Linked DNA regions of Homo sapiens: region 1 is linked to region 2. Evidence: promoter capture Hi-C in 16 types of primary human blood cells and fetal thymus (Javierre and others, 2016). All regions are on one chromosome and are shown on one strand. Each heading gives the region's core, a stretch centred on a gene start or on the middle of the fragment in contact. The rest is flanking DNA. Distances are from core to core; before and after follow the strand shown.

Region 1 (4,135 bases), core at 181-2,680, 5.8 Mb before region 2:
GTTTTACAGATGACAAAACTGAGACACATTAGGTAACTTGCTCAAAGTCATTTTTTGCTTAATCTGCTGTAACTGTCTCTTAACTGGTACTTCCAGCTTTCAGTCTTGGCCTCCACATACTCATTTTTCTTTAGTTGCCAGAGTCATCTTTTTAAAATGCATGACTTCAAATAGCATGCTATCCGCTGTGATGTGCTGGGCAGTACATTTTATTGATGCAGCCAAACTTTAATACATGTTTCAAAGAAATCTTACATAAATTTTTAAAATATAAGGTTGGTTTTTATTTTGTAAAAGCCTGTTCTATCTTCTTCTTAAATTCTGTTTTTTGAGTTAGCTGTTAAATTAGATGAAATTTAAAATGTTTTGTATCTGTTAATGCCAGCTTTGTTGAAAAGCAAAATAGGCGCCCCATACTATTCTGCTTTTAAGGATTTTTTTAAAAACTTCAATGTTTGTTTAAAATAAAGCAACTGTCTTTAATAATTTTATAATAATTTATAGTTTTGAGAGTATGTTTGCGTTTATTTTGCTTAATGTTCTAAATCATATTTATTTTATGGTAGGGCAAGCTTTTGTAAGTGCCGTGTTTACTCAGATGATTTTAGAAAGTAAAGAATTAGCCACATGTCCTATTTATTTAATTTTTCTTTTTGGCAACTTAAATTTTGGCTTGAACCACGTTATTGCCATGGTAAGTTCTGTACTTATGGTAGTTTACGTTTTAATCTACTTTTTTTGAAGACTCAGTTAACCACTATTGAACAATCTTTATTGTTTTAAAGGCATGTAGGCTTATTTCTCTCATACTAAAGTGACTCAGATTATTGTCCTTTTGGTGTCATTTGTGCTTTAGAGGACTCATTCTGTTTTTCATTTTGCTGTTGCTTGTTATTTGTTGGACCTTCCTGCAGTAACTGCTCACTGCAGTGCAGCATAGAGGTTAAGAGGGTTCACTTTGTAGGCAAACTGAAGTTAATTCTTTTGTGCCTCAGTTTTCTCATCTGTAAAATGAAGATAATAGCTCATTTAATCCTATTGAAGTACTAATAGTACGGTGTCTAGCAAATAAGCACTCAATAATTACTGAAAGAAAATAATGTCAGGTACTGTTTTTTCTAAAAAGCTTATGCTACCTTCTTAAGCAGAAATAGTGAACATGATTTCATGAGATGTGGCTATTGTACTGTAAAAACCTCAGGGTCTTTTCATTCAACAACTTTTTATTAAGAATACACCTGCTAAATTCATACACACACACCCACCCCCACCCCCACTCACTCACATCTATGCTTATATTTATGCTCAGTGGCTCTACTAATTAGTTTAGGCTTTTCCTTTCACACTTTGCTTTTCCTTAAGACTTTACATCTTGCTGCTGTTGCTTATGGCTCTGCTTCTGCCAAATTTGTTGAGAATTCTAACAGCCAAAAAAGCAAGTATAACTGAGAGAGAGAGCTGAGGTACTGATTTTGAACAAAGTACACAAGATTTAATACACAGACTTCGTTACCTCTTGACAGCTCATTGGTTACTTTTTTAAAAAAAACTTCTTGTTTTACAGCTATATTTTGAGCAATTGATATTGCTAGACAGTTCTTACATAATATGGTGCTATTAGTGAGTTTGTGTTATTTTCAGATGTTGTTTAGGGTGAGATTTTCAATCTTTAAATTTCCAGATGGAGATACACGTGAATTAGAGCGAACAAAACAATATGTAAATGAAGCTTTTCAAGCAGGGGCTATGACATGCCTAATTTGTATTGCTTCGGTGAAGAGAAACCAAGCAGTAAGTTTTTCTCCTTATTTATATTAATGTATCTCCCCAAAATACCTTAGTTTGCCTTACAATACTTAACGATTTATTATTCTTTTGTTTACTTATGTTTAAAAATGCTTCATTTGAGAATTTTGTATATGAATTGATCTTCATTTTAAAATCTGTAATTAAAAAAAAATTACCACTAAATGAGTATCCAGTATTTTTAGCACTATTGATATAACTTAGTTGTCTTCAGTTTTAATGCAAATGTTGATTTGATAGAACATTTTTAGCATCTGTACTTTAGAGATTCCCACAAAAGTGAAATGTTAAATGTACTATATTTTATTACTTTTGGAAAAAGATACGGTCCCTATCTTCAAGAAAGTAGAACTTGGCAGTAACACTTATGGCTTAATTAGTTAGCGTATCCTGTGTTAAAGGCATTTTGGGAAGTGGTGAGGGTCAGTCGGGAGAGAGATTCAGACAAAACTCATGTCCTTGGAGGAGATATGGCGTAGTGATAAAGATATATATGTGTAAATTTAAAAGGGCATTAATGAAGCAATTAAGAAGTGATTACTGAATGTGAAAGACTCAACATTTAGACCTTAGATTAATTCACTGCTATTATAGCAGCATTGCCTAGAGAAAGCAAATCAAGTCAGATGAAATAGTTTGGTCATGTAGAGTGAATCAGAAATTTAACATGCTCTGGTTGGGTAGAAGAGTATAGCAGATACAGATGCCTTTTGTGCCTAGAGTCACATCTAGTTGGTTTACTCTGATTTCAGCTGCAGGGAATGCATAGTCTCTGCATGCAGATAGAAACCCACTTTAAACATTTGCTGTGTGTGTGCGTTTTTTCCGCCTCTCAATTTTGTTCTTGGAAATTGACTTAGCTAGTACATGGGTATAGTGCAGAAGCACTGGGGAGTTAAAGCCCCTTGCAGCAACATTGCACCACAGGGAGTTGGTAGGTGAATGCCCCAACCTCCTTTCCATTAGCGAGTGGGGCTGGGCAGTCCAAGGCGTGTTTTACATGGTTTTACAGAGGGTCCCCTGGAGGATTGAGCTTCTGTGGCCCTTAGTGGTAATCAGCTCAACCATATGCCATTCATTGGTTATTTCTTTTTCCCTGTCTAGTCCCCTTACTCCTGCATCCAAGTTCTTAGATACCGCTTTGGGGGTAACCCAAACTAAGAAGTCGGCTGTTTAATGCTGTTGTTAGCTCATGCGATATGCTACATGTCTGATTTTATCAAACAGTTGTAAAATGTTATAAGGAAAGGGGAACTGATTTTTATCAGTTTTATCAAAGTGTTTGGCAGGTTTTAAAAATTAATTTAGTATTATTTCTTAAGCTTTTAAATTATGTATATTCTTGTTTTTTGATTACCTAATTTTTAGAATTTAGCATTAGTTAGGTGTTAGACTAATAGGTTTTATATAACAAAAGGGCTGTGTAGAGATATATGTACATATTTATGTTTAAAGATTCTTTTGTAGTGTTATTTATACTTGGAAATAATCATCCAACAAGAAATTTAAGTACGTAAGTCTACATGGTGTAATGTATAGCTATAAATATGCTTATAGAAAAGACTATAAAGTTACATTTCAGTTATTATAGTATGACCTCATTTTTTAAAAGTATGAAAAAAATATATATATATAAATTTGGAGATTGTCCAGAATGTTAGCAGTAATTATTTCTAGCTGAATGAATCTGTTTGACTAATAATAATTTTCTTCGAAGTATCCTACATTTAAATGCATTTCCCATGAAACAGTTCTTCTGTTATACTGGAAGGAAAGACCTTTTTTCTTTAATCCTTAGGTAGCTCTTGAAAATAGTTTAGTGTGATACTCATTTTAAATTATTTTACAATTAACAAAGAAAAATTAACATATATTAACTTCTGATACATTTGTCTTAGGTTTGGAGCTGTTCGGGATGTTTCTGTATATTTCACATGCCCTGTATCCAGAAGTGGGCTAAAGACAGCCAGTTTCTTGTATCTTCTGTGACTGATGATGATTTTGGAAAGAAAGATTGTCCCTGGCCTTGGTAACTTTTTCTAATTAGTTGGATTATTATTATTATTTTCAGATGGAGTTTTGCTCTTGTCACGCAGGCTGGAGTGCAGTGGCGATCTTGGCTCACTGCAACCTCCACCTCCTGGGTTCAAGAGATTCTCCTGTCTCAGCCTCCTGAGTAGCTGGGATTATAGGCACCTGTCACTATGCCTGGCTAATTTTTTGTATTTTTAGTAGACACAGGGTTTCACCATGTCTGCCAGGCTGGTCTTGAACTCCTGACCTCAGGTGACCCACCCCAAAAAATCCCAAAGTGCCAACTAGGCTGGCA
Region 2 (4,399 bases), core at 1,731-4,230:
TAAGGTCCCTGAAGGTAGCAAGATCCCCATCAGTGGAGGCATTTAAACATGGTTTGCACAACCACTTGCCAGGGCCATCGAAAACTATGGGCAGAGGCTTAGTCACAAGAATAAAAGACTGCATAGGTCCCTTCTAGTCCTATGTACCTACGATTATATGGCCACCACACCTTTTTTGCTATGCAATGGGAAAAGCAAAGGAGTATTCCTCAGTCATTTTGTACCAAATGATAGTATGCATACTCCTGTTCCTGCTGCAATATCATCTTGGCATTAAAATGTTGAAGCTAATCAGACATTTAATTTCAAAGTGGAAGGTCATTATCTTGTCACAAAATTTTATTCCAATTACTTTTTTTTCTATTATACGAAATGAATTAAAAGTAGCACAAAACATTGGGAGATCAAACAGTCAATCAGAAGCTCATTAAATATCATTGAAATTGGTGCAATAAAAAGCATTTCCCATGGCTGAGCTATTATTTAAAAGCTATATTCTGGATGGCTCAAGGAATTGACATGCTGCCAATCAAAAAATCACCCTGTCCATAAATAGCCACTTGGCTTTTCAAAATTCACTCTCACTCTCTCTCTCTCTTTTTTTTTTTTTTGAGATAAGAGTAAATATCTAAAAAGATTTAAAGCATGGGTATAATTACTATTCTATCAGCTCCTATGAGACCCCTAAGAGAAGATATCAGCAAAGTCACTATCTGATAATTTAGGCCACAATTTAGAGCAAGATGCTCACAGAGTGCTACCAGTAATTTTATGAACACTTAAATACATTACATCTATGTACAATACTCAGTTAAATACAATCTCAGGCAGGGGTTAGTGGTCAGCTATAATTTTAAAATTGCCTTCAACTCCACACTTAGAGTAAATGCTCATTTTATTTTTAAAAGGGTGATTCTTAAGTACTTCACTTTTCTATGAACTCAGGACGCAGACATAGGTGACTGCCCACATGAAAATCTGAAAGCTGATCATTTAAAACTTTTAAATATTTTTCCTCTGGGCACCTTCCCCTCCCCCTTCCCCCCACTTTTAAAAGCTAAATGACTAATTTGATTATTTCAGTTTTATAGAAATAATCACTTTTTGATGTAAAGGACAGCATGTCCTTTTCAATAGAAAATATACAATAGAAGTATTGTTCCCAGTCTCTTAAGGTGTTTAAGTGGTGAGGAGGATATACATTTAAAACTACATAGAAGAGGAAGCCCCCAGGTACAGGAAATTACTTCTTCAGAAGAACTAAAAGATTTCTCTCCTCTTAACTCCCCACACTGCCACCACCCCAATTTCTTTTCAAAAGCCAGGACTTATTGGCAAATTATCTGGGAGTAAAGTGGGAGGAAAACATTTCAATGCAAAATTCAGAACTGCTTTATAGAAAGGAAAGTGTGGGGAGGTTTGTTATCATTTATTTCCTCCAGTATATCATTCAATTTCAGCTGTCTCACGTCTCAGAAGTAGCTCCCCCATTTCTCACTTACGTGCCTAAGAAACATCTCCCTGGCATCTCATTCTCTTTCTCTTTCACCAGCATTTCATTATTTCTTAACTGTCCCTCTCATGCTTGTCTCCTTTTCCTAGTGATCCACGTGTCCTCATTTAGCAGTTTTCAGAAGCCAGGGAGAAACATTGCAAATAATGTTAAATATGATTAATATCTTGAATTCCTTGAAATATGACATGCATGAGTTACAATGAAACCTCTTTTATTTCCCCATGAAATGCTTTTGCATAATGAGAAAGAAAATGTCCTCTATGCCCTAATCAGCCCTGACAGTTCCTGGACTCCCAAATACTTATATTTATGGCATTATTTATTTCATCTCTAATAAATGGATTGGGGGGGGGACACAGCACCATCTGAGGAAGCTGCAGGAGAGAGGGAGACAATCTAGGGGGGAATAATACAGAAGCTGAACCAGCAAGGCAGAGAGAAAAAGCTTCCAAAGGGAAGGAGACCAGGGAAAGAGAGGCCAAAAGATGTGAACCCCCAGAAGAAAATGGGTCACCTTCCTAAGAATAAAAGGAAGGCTCTGAAAAGGAAACAAACTTCAGAGTGCAGAGATGAGGGTCCTACATCAAGGAGCATCCAGAACTCTGACCTGGAGAACGAAAAAGGAAGGCTGAAAAGCAAACCTGGGGCAGGGTATGCTGGTTGGCCTAGAAGAGGGGTGATTTGGGATAGGGAGCAATGGACCCTCTGCCCCAAAAAGTGGCTGGGAGAGACCAGGACATCTGCATCCCATGGAGGATCTTCCTCCCAACGACTGAGATCTCTCATTCAAACGGCTACTGAAATTGGGCACCCTCCAGACCCTCGCCGGATGGCGCCAGTTGCAGTGAGTAAAACAATGCAAGGAGTGAGTTCTCGTGTTTCCCTGGGCTTGCAAGTACATATACATATATTAAAAATGACACTGTTGAAAGTAATCATCACCTCAAAGGGAGGTATCAGGACATTTCCCCACTCAATTGCACAGAGGCTACTGGCTATGGGAAGTGAGGAGTTGACTTCAAATAACCTGGATGCGTCAGTGCAACACAGCCGCACACTCCCGAGTGTCTGACTTTGGGCAATTCCCTTCAACCTCTCAGAGCCTCGGTTTTCTCATCTTTATAATGGGGGGGAAATCATGGTGTCATGCACGTTCTCGGGGCCCCTACGGGAAACAAATGAAAACGTGAAAAAGTTCTACGCCTTGCGAGCTTTTATGTTCCGCATGAGCTCAGAGGCCGCGATGCTCGGGGAAAGCAGGACCCCAAAGCCCCGTAAACACCGCGCGACCACCCGGGCCAAGATCTTCAAGAGGTTCTTTTCAGAAGGATCGGAGAGCAATTCCCGATTGGTAGAAGAACTTGCTGTAATACACACGTACTCTGACGACCCCGCCCCAACGACTAGCCCCTCCTCTGTGCAACCCCGAGAGTTTGGGGTCATGCAGGGGGCGCCACGAGCTCGTTTCGGAAGCCGGACCCCGCCCGCAGCCGCAGAAGCCTCGAGTCCACATCTGGGTCTCTAAAGTCTCGCCGTAGCCAGATCCCGGATCCCCACCTTCTTCACCAGTTCCCGGGCGTCCTCCAGGTCCTCGCTTTCCCCCTTCCCCCGCTCCCCGTCGGAGGCGCGGAGCCGCCAGGCAGACCCCGCGGGCGGCTGCGGCGCCAGGCCCCGCCCCGCCCCCATTATCATTAGCAGATATTACCCTAAACACTTGCTCTTTACCTCCTTTCTCCCTCCAGGCATTGGCGAGGCAGCCTGTCAATCAGGAGCTCGGGCGGCAGCCCCCCGCGCGGGGGCTCGGCGATGCCAGCCTCAGCGACAGGCGGCGGCGGCGGCGGCCACGGCACAGACACACACCCTCCCACACGCGCGCACCAGGGCAGACCCGGCGGGCAGGCGGCGGAGGCACCCTCGGAGCCCGGCGCCCGGCGGGGAGGGGACGTGCTCCGAGGGACCGGCCCCGAGGCGCCGGATGGAGGAAGAGATGCAGCCGGCAGAGGAGGGGCCCAGCGTCCCCAAAATCTACAAGCAGCGCAGCCCCTACAGCGTCCTCAAGACGTTCCCCAGCAAGAGACCGGCGCTGGCCAAGCGCTACGAGCGACCCACCCTGGTGGAGCTGCCGCACGTGCGGGCGCCCCCGCCGCCCCCGCCGCCCTTCGCGCCGCACGCCGCCGTCTCCATCAGCAGCAGCGAGCCGCCGCCGCAGCAGTTCCAGGCGCAGAGCTCCTACCCCCCCGGGCCCGGCCGGGCCGCCGCCGCCGCTTCGTCGTCGTCGCCGTCCTGCACGCCCGCCACATCCCAGGGCCACTTGAGGACTCCGGCGCAGCCGCCGCCCGCGTCCCCCGCCGCCTCCTCGTCGTCTTCGTTCGCCGCTGTCGTCAGGTATGGCCCAGGCGCGGCGGCGGCCGCCGGCACCGGCGGCACGGGTAGCGACAGCGCCAGCCTGGAGCTCAGCGCAGGTACCAACTCTCCGCACAACTTTCCTTCCCGCCACGGCCGGGGGCAGCGGGAGGGGACCCAGGAAGGAGAAGCGGGGGGCCGCCGACACTTACCCGTGCTGGGCCGTGTCGGGATGTCGGGGCGCACCTGGGGCCTCCCCGCGCACCCGGAAACTTCGAGAGGATTCTCCAGCGCCGCCGCGCCTGGGCTTCCGACGGCGCGCGCCTAACAGGTGGCTCCGCGGCTTGGATCCCGCGCCGGGAAGCACGGCTGTGGCAGTCGGCGACCAGGATCGCTCGGGCGTGGTCCGGAGTGGGGCCAGACGCCCCCCCGGGGGATAGCGGCGGCCGCTCGGGAAGAAGCTGGAGCTTCTCGGGCCGCCCCGCTGGGACGCCCTCGTACTACTTCACTTTTTCCGTCTGCTTTTTCCCTTTCTCCTTC

Evidence for each region. The method cuts DNA at HindIII sites, captures the fragments that hold promoters and counts their contacts. A CHiCAGO score of 5 or more calls a contact.
Region 1: a contact is called between a fragment that was not itself captured here and the fragment with the promoter of BEND4 in region 2, in 1 of 17 cell types (total B cells). The highest score is 5.5, in total B cells.

The regions. Positions count from the first base shown.
Region 1 is chr4:47,902,893-47,907,027 of GRCh38, reverse strand. NFXL1 (nuclear transcription factor, X-box binding like 1) reads left to right here. Exons shown (of 23, transcript NM_001278624.2): 4 at 1,682-1,791; 5 at 3,705-3,835. Among named protein-coding and RNA genes, the nearest start is that of NFXL1, 9.6 kb to the left of the region's middle. The HindIII fragment of the contact is 603 bases long and covers 1,129-1,731 here.
Region 2 is chr4:42,151,236-42,155,634 of GRCh38, reverse strand. It overlaps BEND4 (BEN domain containing 4), which reads left to right and starts at 2,980. Exons shown (of 6, transcript NM_207406.4): 1 at 2,980-3,103; 2 at 3,259-3,978. The coding sequence starts at 3,492. RefSeq lists silencers at 3,288-3,607, 3,808-3,897 and an enhancer at 3,663-4,399. The HindIII fragment of the contact is 4,164 bases long and covers 1,964-4,399 here.